Linked DNA regions of Homo sapiens: all the other regions are linked to region 2. The links are contacts of gene promoters, found by promoter capture Hi-C in blood cells and fetal thymus (Javierre and others, 2016). All regions are on one chromosome and are shown on one strand. Each heading gives the region's core, a stretch centred on a gene start or on the middle of the fragment in contact. The rest is flanking DNA. Distances are from core to core; before and after follow the strand shown.

Evidence for each region. Contacts are between HindIII fragments. The CHiCAGO score rates a contact against its expected background, and 5 or more counts as called.
Region 1: a contact is called between the fragment with the promoter of SPMAP2 here and the fragment with the promoter of CDC34 in region 2, in 1 of 17 cell types (naive CD8 T cells). The highest score is 5.2, in naive CD8 T cells.
Region 3: a contact is called between the fragment with the promoter of MIER2 here and the fragment with the promoter of CDC34 in region 2, in 2 of 17 cell types (naive CD8 T cells and total CD8 T cells). The highest score is 9.2, in naive CD8 T cells.

What each region holds. Positions count from the first base shown.
Region 1 is chr19:374,513-378,405 of GRCh38, reverse strand. SPMAP2 (sperm microtubule associated protein 2) reads left to right here and starts at 2,380. Exons shown (of 8, transcript NM_016585.5): 1 at 2,380-2,743. The coding sequence starts at 2,436. The HindIII fragment of the contact is 8,842 bases long and covers 1-3,893 here.
Region 2 is chr19:529,897-533,687 of GRCh38, reverse strand. CDC34 (cell division cycle 34, ubiquitin conjugating enzyme) reads right to left here and starts at 1,928. Exons shown (of 5, transcript NM_004359.2): 1 at 1,580-1,928. The coding sequence starts at 1,756. RefSeq lists enhancers at 554-713, 784-833, 1,231-1,887 and silencers at 1,094-1,263, 1,684-2,423. The HindIII fragment of the contact is 9,081 bases long and covers 1-3,301 here.
Region 3 is chr19:342,245-346,106 of GRCh38, reverse strand. MIER2 (MIER family member 2) reads left to right here and starts at 1,311. Exons shown (of 14, transcript NM_017550.3): 1 at 1,311-1,333. The coding sequence starts at 1,325. RefSeq lists silencers at 967-1,416, 1,487-1,536, 1,837-1,946 and an enhancer at 2,255-3,206. The HindIII fragment of the contact is 25,759 bases long and covers 1-2,214 here.

The DNA.
Region 1 (3,893 bases), core at 1,131-3,630, 160 kb after region 2:
GACCCTGGAGCGCTCATCTGCCTCTCCTCTCCACAACGGGCTGCCATGAGGGCTAAACGCGCTGCAGCCTGGGTGCTGCCTGGGTGCTGAGAGCCGGAGGCTGCCAGACCCCCAACCGCGCCTCCCTGGAGTAGGGTTAGGGAGCAGCCTCGGGGTGCGGCGCCCTGCTCTGAACGAGGTCTCCTGGAAACACTGCAGTGGCCACAGGCCCTCCAGCGGCAACAATGCCTAACTCATCTCTTTGTGAAAGGCACCCGCAGATCTTGATCCAGTTTAACTTAAGAGAGAAAAGTAAATCATTGAGTGCAAGGTAAGGGTTTACGAGACTTCCGGCCAAGAAAGGGGATTTTCCCATGGCCTCCTTGATGGGACCGGATCCTCCCCGGGGCCCTTCTGCCTGGAGTCCTCCGAGAGACCCCTTTCCTGACAGAGGTGGTGGTGAGGCTGCGTCTGGGAGCAGAGCATCAGGGAGATGGGATGGGAGCTGGAGAGGGCTTTGTGTGTGTCGATGAACTGGGTCTCTTGCGTGCCGAGTGGTCACCATGCCCGGAGGGCCGGCCCCACGCTGGTGGCAGGGGTGAGGGACAGAGCAGTCCTCGGGGTGGGCTAGCACTGGGTGGGGGTAGGGGTGGGGGTCCTAGGCCTGGGAGCCCAGAAAGGGGAGGGATGGTCAGGGACTCTCCCTGCGTGGGGGACCGACAGGCTTGAGTCTTCAATGATGAGTAGAAAACCACCAAGCACAGAAGGGTGAAAGGCTGGGTGGGGGCACACAGCACAGAGGGGGAGAGGCTGGGTGGGGCACAGAGGGGGAGAGGCTGGGTGGGGCACAGAGGGGGAGAGGCTGGGTGGGGCACAGAGGGGGAGAGGCTGGGTGGGGCACAGAGGGGGAGAGGCTGGGTGGGGGCACAGAGGGGGAGAGGCTGGGTGGGGGCACAGAGGGGGAGAGGCTGGGTGGGGCACAGAGGGGGAGAGGCTGGGTGGGGCACAGGGGGGAGAGGCTGGGTGGGGCACAGAGGGGGAGAGGCTGGGTGGGGCACAGAGGGGGAGAGGCTGGGTGGGGCACAGGGGGGAGAGGCTGGGTGGGGGCACAGAGGGGGAGAGGCTGGGTGGGGCACAGGGGGGGGAGAGGCTGGGTGGGGCACAGAGGGGGAGAGGCTGGGTGGGGCACAGAGGGGGAGAGGCTGGGTGGGGCACAGGGGGGAGAGGCTGGGTGGGGCACAGAGGGGGAGAGGCTGGGTGGGGCACAGAGGGGGAGAGGCTGGGTGGGGGCACAGAGGGGGAGAGGCTGGGTGGGGCACAGGGGGGAGAGGCTGGGTGGGGCACAGGGGGGAGAGGCTGGGTGGGGCACAGAGGGGGAGAGGCTGGGTGGGGCACAGAGGGGGAGAGGCTGGGTGGGGGCACAGAGGGGGAGAGGCTGGGTGGGGCACAGGGGGGAGAGGCTGGGTGGGGCACACGGGGGAGAGGCTGGGTGGGGCACAGAGGGGGAGAGGCTGGGTGGGGCACAGAGGGGGAGAGGCTGGGTGGGGGCACAGAGGGGGAGAGGCTGGGTGGAGGCACGGGGGGGGAGAGGCTGGGTGGGGCACGGAGGGGGAGAGGCTGGGTGGGGCACGGAGGGGGAGAGGCTGGGTGGGGGCACAGAGGGGGAGAGGCTGGGTGGGGCACAGAGGGGGAGAGGCTGGGTGGGGCACACAGGGGGAGAGGCTGGGTGGGGCACAGAGGGGGAGAGGCTGGAAATTCAGCTCCTTTGGCGACGTACGAGGAATTCCTGAAGGCAGCAGCCTGGGGAATACTCCAGTTATAACCATTATTTTGTTGTGAGGGTTGGAACAGCCTATTTTGAAGTTATTTCTCATGAGAGGTTGGGGCTGGAAGCGTCTGTATCACCTAGGGTGCAGTTTTAGCTGCTAGGAATTGGAAACCAAGCCAAAACGACTTAGTACTAAGGAAACTTACTGTTTCAAGTAACAAGAAGCCTGGACACAGAGTGGATTCCAAGGCTGCTAAGTTCAGAGGCTCGACAGCCACATCAAAGGCCCACCTTTCAGTTCATCTGCCCTCAGATGGCAGGCCTCATGGTCACAAGAAGGCTGCCTGGGCTCTGGACATTACCGACGGGCCCCACAGGGACAGGAACAGGAGACGCGGTCTCTTCCTTGTGTCTCCTTTTGAGAGAGGGAATCCATAGCTAGATGCCCCTGCAGGTTCCCGTCAGGTCTCCTTCCTAAACCAATCCTGGGAGGTCCTGAGTGAGCCGTGACCACCAGGACTGAGTCCTGATCCCAGCGCAAGCCCAGGTGACCAGCATTGGAGACGGCGCACGGGTTAGAATGTGGACCGTGGGGAATGTGACGGACGCTCTCCTGTTGCCGCGGCCACCACAGACACATTTGGGTGCCGGGAGAGTGAGGCCGCGGGGGCTGGGAAGGGACCGGTGTATGGGGGACAGCAGGCGAAGGTCACTCGGGAACCAGCCCAGCTCTGAGGCTGCGGGCAGGTCGGAAAGGGAGCAGGACGGCGACCCCCGTGGCCTCCAGAGCTCTGTGTACGAGAGCCGGCGGGTCACAGACCCCGAACGCCAGGACCTGGACAATGCAGAGCTGGGACCAGAAGACCCAGAAGAGGAGCTTCCCCCCGAGGAGGTGGCCGGGGAGGAGTTCCCGGAGACCCTGGATCCCAAAGAGGCACTTTCTGAGTTGGAGAGAGTCCTGGACAAGGACTTGGAAGAGGACATTCCTGAAATCAGGTGGGCACCGGGGAACGGGCCTGCCTGGGTGCGGTGGGGTAGGGCTCAGCCCCTGGCAGTGGGGGGAGGGCAGCAGCCCCCTGGGCGGGCGAAAGGGTCGTAACCGGCCACCGGCCTGGCTCGCTGCTCCCGAGGGGCCCGGCCCTGCCGAGTCAGCCTAGGTGTGGGCTTGGTCGGTTGGCGGCCAGCACCCCTCACTGGGCCCTGAGGCAGACACCAGCAGACGCTCCCCTATCTGGTGGCAGGAGGAGGAGTAAACAGCGCTGAGTTTGGAGTCAGGCAGACTGAGTTCAGGTGCCCAGAGTTCAGAGTTTAGCGAGTGATGGCCTCAAGTCAGACAGAGAGAATAAGAAATGGGAAAAAAAAAGCCTCCCAACTCAAAAGTTGAAACCATTCTAAGCACCACACGTGGCTAAAAGGTTTTAAATGGTCGGGAGGAACACGTTCTGGGTGAACTGACGCTTCGGCCAATCAGCACTGGGGGCGCTGATTTTGGGCAGTTGCTGGAGTGTCCCCAGCAAGGCGCGCACTCTACATACCTCTGGGACTCGGCTCCCGTCCTCCCTGCAGCGTGGTCCCTGCACGTGCCCGACCTGCCCCCTTCTCACCGTGGTTTCCGTGCCGCCCAGGGAGGTTTGCCGCCCAAGAACAAAGTGGCTGCCCTGCCCTCATGGGGCTCTGCCAACCTGCAGAGAAAACAGCAGGAGTGTGAGGGGATTCTGGGGAGAACGTGGGAGCCAGCAGCTGCATCAAGCAAGGACAGGGCAGATATCCTGGCATTTGGCATCTTCACCTGCTGCCTGTTTCCCTCCCACAGTCTGTGAGCTTTCTGGGAGGCAGGAGCCGCTCTCTTTAGAGGGTGGTTGCCCCTCTGGGGCCTGGCATACAGTAAGCACTTGACAGATGTCTGTGAGATGAGTAAACACTACCTTAGTACTCACCAAAACAGCCCCGCCAGGTGGGAGCTGGTCTCACCTCCAATTCACAGAGGAGGAAGCTGAGGACCAGGGGAGACAGGTGACCTGGACGGGTCTTCCATCCAGCGAGCAGTGGAGCTGCGGTTGGTCCAGGCCTTCGTGGTGCCAAAGTCCTCCCTCAGAGACCCCTCGAGGGAAAGGAGAGGCGGGTGGGCAGGGTGAGTGCAGACAAA
Region 2 (3,791 bases), core at 679-3,178:
TGGCAACCGGTCTGGTGGGCACAGCAGCCAGAAACCCCCATCCCCTCCTTCCAGAACAGCAGCCGCCTCACAGGCCTGGCTTCGAGGTGGGGCTGCGGCTCCTCAGCCAGCTGCTCCCCCAAGCAGACAGAAGGGGCTGGCGGAGGAGCTGCTAAAACCATTTGGCAACCTCGAGACCCAAACTCTGTTCCCTGTGTGGGGACGCAGGATTCCAGATGCAGAACCCACGGGCGTCCCACTCTCTGCTCAGGAATCGCCCCCAGCAGACCAGGCTGCTGCCCTCACAGCCGCTGAGCGGGTGCGGTTCAGACACTAATTAGCTCGGAGAGCAGACACATATCGTGCGGGAGGCATCGGTCCCTCGGCCCCACGCCCGCAGCTGGCCGGGGCAGAGCGGGCCGGGCCCTGCAGTGTCGTGTCGTGTCCAGGCTCTTGGCAGGAAGTGACGGTGGGAGGGGGAGATTCCTGGACAGGGTGCTCGTTCCCCACCGCTCACACAGGGCCCCTCGCTTTGTCCCTCTGGCCCCAAGAACGAGGTCCCTGAACGCTAAAAGAAGTCAAAGGTCACGTCTGGATCGTGAGATCAAGAAAACTGCCCTGGTTTTGGCCTGAGTCCTTTTCACATGAGACAGAAACAGCCTCCCCGCTCCCAACAACAACAAAAACATCCAGAAACTGCTTGGAATTAAACCGCCAGAGGGCAGAAGAAACGGCCCAGAACTCGGGGTTTGGGTCCCAAGAAGCCACCTGTTCAGTGGACTCTGAGAAAGGCCAAGACCAGCTGGGATGAGCGAGCCCGGAGCTTCTGAGGTCGGGGTCCGGGACGCGGGCCCGAGCCGGGAGGCCTGGAGAGAGCTGCAGGGAGCAGGTGGGAGGCACGCCCCTACTTCGGCCTTCCCGAGGGCGCAGGTTACATAAAGCAGGGGATGGAGCCCAGGGCGCCTGGCCGGCTGCTACTGGCAAGGGTGGCCGCTTTCCAGGCGGGTCCTGGCTGCCAAGGCTCATCCGGGCCTTTGTTGGAGACTGAGCGAGTGGCCGCGCCAGCCACCCCCAGGCTGGCCTCGCTCCCCCGCTCACGGGCCCAGCTCCCCAACAATAGCAGCTACGGGGTCTGGGGGGGCCTCTTTGTCTCCTCCGGGGAGGGCGGGGAGGGCAGCTGAAAGGCCGGCGCGGCCTGGGCTCCGCTCCCTCTTTCTCGCAGGGGCGGAGGGGGAGGCAGCCGGGGTCCAGCCCCCGCCAAGGAGGAGGTGGGCAAGAGCCCCACGCCCAGATGCTACAGGGAGGGCCCCCGGCCACCCCTCCGGGGGCCAAGAGCCTAACAGGGGACCGGACGATGCCTTGAAGGGAACTGGGGATTTTCGAGGACTGCAGCAGAGGCTGAAGGTCCCCGAGACGGTCCGAGGAGGGGGCCGGGCAGAGCTGGGTGGGGGAACGTGGCCATAGAAGGGAAACGAGCCCAAGCCAGGAGGCTTCGGGGCCCGCCCAGCAACAGCGCTAGGACCGCGGGGCAGGGAGCTGGTTCCCGGCGCCCGAGGTCGCTCGTGGGCTCCGGGACCCGGGCGGGGGTCGCCGCGCTCACCTTGAAGTAGCCGCCCTCGTAGTAGGTGTTGGGGGGCCCGAAGATGGCCACCTCCCAGTTGTATAGATCGCCCTCGTCCACCAGTGTCACGCGGAATCCCTCGACCGGCTCTTCCTGCAGCCCCTTGAGCTCCAGCAGCAGCGCCTTCTGCGAGCTGGGCACTAGCGGCCGAGCCATGGCGGCGGCGGAGGGGCCCGGGGTCGGAGCAGCGCGGGGCCGCGCGACCACCGCGAGTTCGCGAGACGGGCCGGGCCGCGCACCGTCCGGGGGGGAGCCACCGGGGCCGCCGCCTGCCTCCTCCTCTGCGCCGCCGCCGCCGCCCGGGGACCCCGAGCGCTCCAGCAGCTCTGGCGCCGCCGCCCCACCGGCGCTTGCCTTGGCCGGGCCCGCGCGCCCCGCCCCCCGCTGCGCCTGCGCGCACCGCCTGGCCCCGACTGCGCCTGCGCTCCGCGGCCAGGTCCGACTTGCGCCTGCGCGCCCGGCCGCAGGGGACGCCGGGAGGTGGAGTCCCGGCCCCGGTCCCGCCTACGGCGCCGAGCGCCTCCGCCGGGAGGGAGGGTTCGAGCGCGCAGCCCCGGGCTCTTCCGATCCCCGAGGCCGCCGCCGTCGCCCCCTGCTCGACCAGCACCGCGGACGCTGTGCGCAAGGAGGCGGGCAGGGCTGCTCTGCGCCGTCACCGGCCCGGTCCCCCGGCTTTGGGGTTGTTTTGTGACGTGCCGGCGCGGGGCGGGGCCGCGGGCGGTGAACGGGGCGCGGCGCGGGGTCCTGACCGGGACCGGAGGGGCAGGGCCGGTCCATCCGGCGCGACCCCGCGTCCCCGTCTCCGTTTCCCCGTCTGTGCAGGGGACGGGCGCGAAGTCTGTCCTAGGGTCGCGCTGGCCACGCGGAAGGGAGGAAGGGGCGGGAGCGAGGCGGGATCCGCAGACCTGGCTTCCAGGCGCGGCGCTGCCTCGGTTCCCCCGACAGCGGGAGCTCTGAGAAGTGGGCGAGGTCGGGGAGGGCTCTGAGGGGTGGGAGGGGCGAGGGCTTCCCTGGTCCCCGTTGAAGTCACCATGTGGTGTGAGGCGAGTGCAGGCGCTGGAGCCATCAGAGGTTGGCAAGGTGCTCCTGCCCCCCAGAGAAACTGGGAAAGAGGCCTACGCCGGCCAGCATCGGCTCAGCACCTGACCCGGGAGAGGCGCCAGCCCCACGGAGCCCCCACCCCAAGCTGAGCCCGAGCCTGGCTGTGCCCTCCTCCCAGCCTGACCTTTGTCCTACCCGAGTCTTTTTTTTTTTTTTTTTTTTAAATGAGACAGAGTCTCGTTCTGTGGCCCAGGCTGGAGTGCAGTGGCACAATCTCACTGCAACCTCCGCCTCCCGGGTTCAAGCTAGTGTCCGCCTCAGCCTCCCGAGTAGCTGAGATTACAGGTGCCCGCCACCACGTCCGGCTAATTTTGTATTTTAAGTAGAGATGGGGTTTCACCATGTTGGCCAGGCTGGTCTCGAACCCCTGACCTCAAGTGTGTTGTTAGGTTTTGAAAGGAAGGGGAGGATGCAGTTTGGACTAATAAAGGGATCCGTCTGCGTCGGCCTCCCAAATGCTGGGATTATAGGCATGAGCCACCGCGCCCAGCCCACCTGAGTCTTGACCCCAGCTGATTCCGGGCATCACTGTGACCCCACCTGACTTCTGACCTGGCTCAGTGGCTGCCCAGACACCCACATGCTCCTTGCTGTGAAGCTTGGTCGGGAGAACTGGCCGTGGTGAGGACGGGGCAGCCCAGCCTCCCCTGAGTCGTGCCCGTGACGGGTGGCCCTGCCCTCGGACTGTGCCAGTGGCATTGTTGCTATGCCCTGGGTACACACAGCTGCATCAACATACAGGCCGGGCACGGTGGCTCACGCCTGTGATCCCAACACTTTGGGGGGCCGAGGCGGGCGGATCACAATGTCAGGAGATCGAGACCATTGTGGCTAATATGGTGAAACCCCGTCTCTACTAAAAATACAAAAAATTATCTGGGCGTGGTGGCGGGCGCCCGTAGTCCCAGCTACTCGGGAGGCTGAGGCAGGAGAATGGCGTGAGCCCGGGAGGCGGAGCTTGCAGTGAGTCTAGATAGCGCCACTGCGCTCCAGCCTGGGCGACAGAGACTCCGTCTCAAAAAAAAAAAAAACCAAAAACAAAAACCAGTCTGGGACCAGGGCCACTCTGTCCCGCAGGTGCCCCAACACC
Region 3 (3,862 bases), core at 62-2,561, 190 kb after region 2:
CAACTCTTGCACAAATCAGTGAGGACTCTTCAACACGAGGGCCAGAACCCTCAATCTCAATGATGTAAACCAAAAAAGGAGTGAGGGTAGACCCCTCCAGAGTGGTTCTTCTATCTCTTGGTTGGTGAATTCTCAGAGGACTGAGTAATGATTTTGCATCAGGAATCAAGGCTGATGCATGTCAAGTTCTCACTATTCATTGGCTGATCACTGGGAAACAGGAATGAGACTCATTCTCTTCTTCCTGGTCCCCAATTCCCTTCCTCCTGGTCCCCAATTCCCTTCTTCCTGGTCTCCAGTTCTCTTCTTCCTGGTCTCAGTAGGAACCGCCCTCCACTCATTTGCGCAAGCCAGACATCTGGAGGCCATCCTTCACTCTCTCCAGCTTCCCTCCATCAGCGAGTCTTGTGGTGTCCACCTTCTCAAGTCTCTCTGCACTCTGGTCCAGGCCCCACAGCTCCCACCTGGCCCCTGCCTCTTCACGCCCCACCCCTGCTTCCTATCCTCTCTCTGCATCGTGCGCCCCGAAGATTCACGGCACTTATCCGTCTCAAATTTAAGGTGTGGCGAGTCCTTGCCTTCCCATCCTCCACTCTAAACGCCCTGAAGACAGGCGTTAGGGCTGTCTCCTTCAAACCCTCAGGATCAGAACGTGCACGTGTTCCAGAAATGTTCAATCTGCGAAACGACGGACTGCAGAACCAAATGGCCCTGGGGTCAAGCCCACCTCCCTGCCTCCCGCCTTGGGCTCTCCGGCGCGGGGCCACCGTTTCTAAAACCTCTCCGACTGGTGCGCGTTCGCAAGCTCCCCGATTGGTTCCTCCGCGCGCTAGTTTGCTCATCACGGGTGCGAAAGTGCAGAAAATTCCAGAACCACGCAGCCCGGACACCAATTCTGGCTCTATCACTGACACTCTGGGTGGCCCGTCGCCCTGGGCCTCAGTTTCCTAGTCTGCCACGCGGGGTATTAACAGCGAGCAGCCGAGGGAATGAAGAGGTCACACAGGACCACGTGGTCCCCACGCAGGTGTGATTATCAGGAATTCGTATTTTTATGGAATGCAGTCTCCTCCGCCAAGGCCAAGGCCAAGATCAGGGTCCAGCAGAGACGGCCGGAAAGACACCGCAAGCTCGCCAGAAGCCGCCGGCCACGCTCGGCTGCGCGCCCGCGCCCGCGCCCGCGCACCTACTACGCGCCCGGCCCGCTCTCCGCCCCCTCCAGGCTCCGCCCCCTGCCCCGCCCTCCAGGCTCCACAGCCAATGAGTGCGCGGCCCCTCATCCGGGGATCCCGGCGCGGCCACCGCCTCCCGCGCACACACGGCCATGGCGGAGGTGAGTGAGCGGGCCGGGGGAGCCGGCCCCCCGCCCCCGCGCGTCCGCGCCCCCCGCCGCCGTGGCTCGGCCTCGTCGTGGGCCCCAGGGACGGAGAGCCCCGCTCTGGAGCTCTGAGGCCGGCCGGGGCGCCTGGCCCGTCCGGGGCCGGAGGGGCGCGGGGCTCCATCGGCGGCCGCCCCCGGCCGGCCCCCACCCCCCAACTCCCCCGGCTGCCACATCGCGGGCTGCAGTGCGCATGCGCGGCGGCGCGGGGCGGGCGGGGGCCGGGGTGGGGGAGGGGAGGGACGCGGGGCGGGGCTGGTGTCGGGGGTCCGGTGGGCGCGCGGCTCCGTTCCAGGGTCCGGCTCCGGTTCCCGGCCCCGGCCCGGGCCCCGCGGCGCGCAGGCCTCCCCTCCCGCGCCTTTGCCAACTTTGCCGAGTGCTGGGGCCGCCAGGCGCCCCGCGCTCCCCATCGGGATCCCGGTGGACCCACCGCGCCTCCGCCGCCCGCGAGCCCCCCGGCGGGGCTGGGTCAGACCCCGGGCGGGATTTGAACTCCCGACGCGGACCCGCCTGGCGCGAACTGGGCGCAGGGTGGGTGGGTCTGCCGGGGCCTAGAGAGCGTCGGGGCTGATCTCAGAAGAGTTGGACCAGCCTCTCCCGGGCACGAAGTTACTTCTGGAGCCTCCTCCCTCGTCCAGGAAACAAGCCCGGGACCCTTTATCTGAAATGTTTGGGACCAGCTATATTTTGGAATCCAGAATTTTTCCAATTTGAGGATCTGTGGGATTTTGGACTGTGATGTTTGATCAAACCCACCTAGGACTGTCTAGGATAAGACAACAGATAGCTTCGTGTCAGGTCAAACCAGGAAGGAAGAAACTTTCGCTTTTGAAGCTTTTTTTGATTTTGGAGTGGTGGATGAGCCTGTGTGGACTTGCTTTCACCTTGGAGGGCCCTGGTGAAGATGGAAAGAGATAATGTAGGTGAAGGTGCGGCGGCTGCGAGGTGCTCAGTCAGTGGGACTCAGTGCATGACTTCTGTGCGCAGAAGTTACGACAGGCGGGCAGACTCAAGAGCTGATCCTATCTCTGGGATAGAGCCCAAAGGAAAAGGTGCCCACCCAGCCAGGCACAGCCGCCTCGTGGGAAGCCGGGATTGGAACTGCGGCCTGGCCGTGGTGCCACGTTGCGTGTTTATGTCTTGGGCGTTGTGGGAGGCAGGACTGGCCATTCTCTCCCCCTGGTGACGACCTCAGGGGCAGTAACAGGCCCTGTGTTTATGCCAAAGACGGTGTAGGTGTCTCGATACTAGGCCAGACCACCGGCCAGTTCCTTCATCGAGAATTAGTTCTTCTTGAGACGCTTAGGGAGACTGAGTCCCCATGCAGATGGTGGCTGTCCTCCAGGGTCGGAGGCAGAAGCCGCGTCTCCCAGTGGCCCTGCAGCGACGTGGTGGTCGAATGAGTTGTGCTCCTGGAATCTGGGCAACACACGTGGCCTGACAGGTAGCTCTGTGTCTGGGATGGCACAAGTCAGACTCCCAAGCCAGCCTCCCCCAGAGCTGCCATGTGGCTGTTCTGCCCTGCTCTAGGCTGAGCTCCGTAAATGTGCACAGCAGCTTGTGGTCCGGCTGCTCCTGTTAACCCTGTTTTACACTTTGGGGTGGTGCCCTGTTGAGTGAATTTGATTTGATTTTCTAAGGAGGTCCCGCTCTGTCCTCGGCCTGAGGATCTGGGAGTGAATGGAGCAGACAGGGCCTCTCCTACAGGGATGCAGAGTCTGGTCAGAGAGAGACGTGGGTGGGTTAGGACCAACAAGTATGAGGTGCTGAGCGTGAGGAGCCATGGCAAGCTGTCTGACCACCGGACTTGTTCTGTGTGGTCTTGGGCAGGTTGCCCAGTGACTCAGAACTTCCTTTTCCTCATCTCTGAAATGGGAAGTTTAATGGTCACCCTTCAGAGCTAGGAGGTCTGATGAGGTCCTGCCACAACGGCTTGTACATGGAAGTTGAATCTTGTGAAGTTGACGATATTCCACTGTTTTTAACCCGTAAAAGTGGCAATTTGTAACTTTATAGCACGTGATCAGTACTAGCTACTTTATTCTGTATCAGTATCCCAGAATAATCATAAGCACCACAGTGGCAGACGGGAATGCTTCATACTTTTCTCAGGCATACTAGATTGATCTTTTAAAAACCTAAGAGCACCATCTTTTGCTCCTACCTAAAACCCTCCATGGCTTTTCATGGTCCCTGGGATAAAATGCTCCTCCTTGCTGAGTCCCACAGCCCTGTGAGGTGGTCCCCACGGATCTGCCCCCTACTCTAGGGCCCTGGGCTCCTGTTTGCTGGTGCACTCTACCCATTTGGGGGCTGCCAACGATGGTTCCACCTCGACTGAGGCCCCCCAGGCCTTCCCTGACCCGCAGTTGCAGAGCCCGTGCGCCCTGTTTTCTCTTCTCGGTACCATACATGTCCACTTGTTTGTTGTCTGTGTCCAAAACTAGCAACTCCATGTGGGTGGAGGCAGGTGGAACTTGTTTC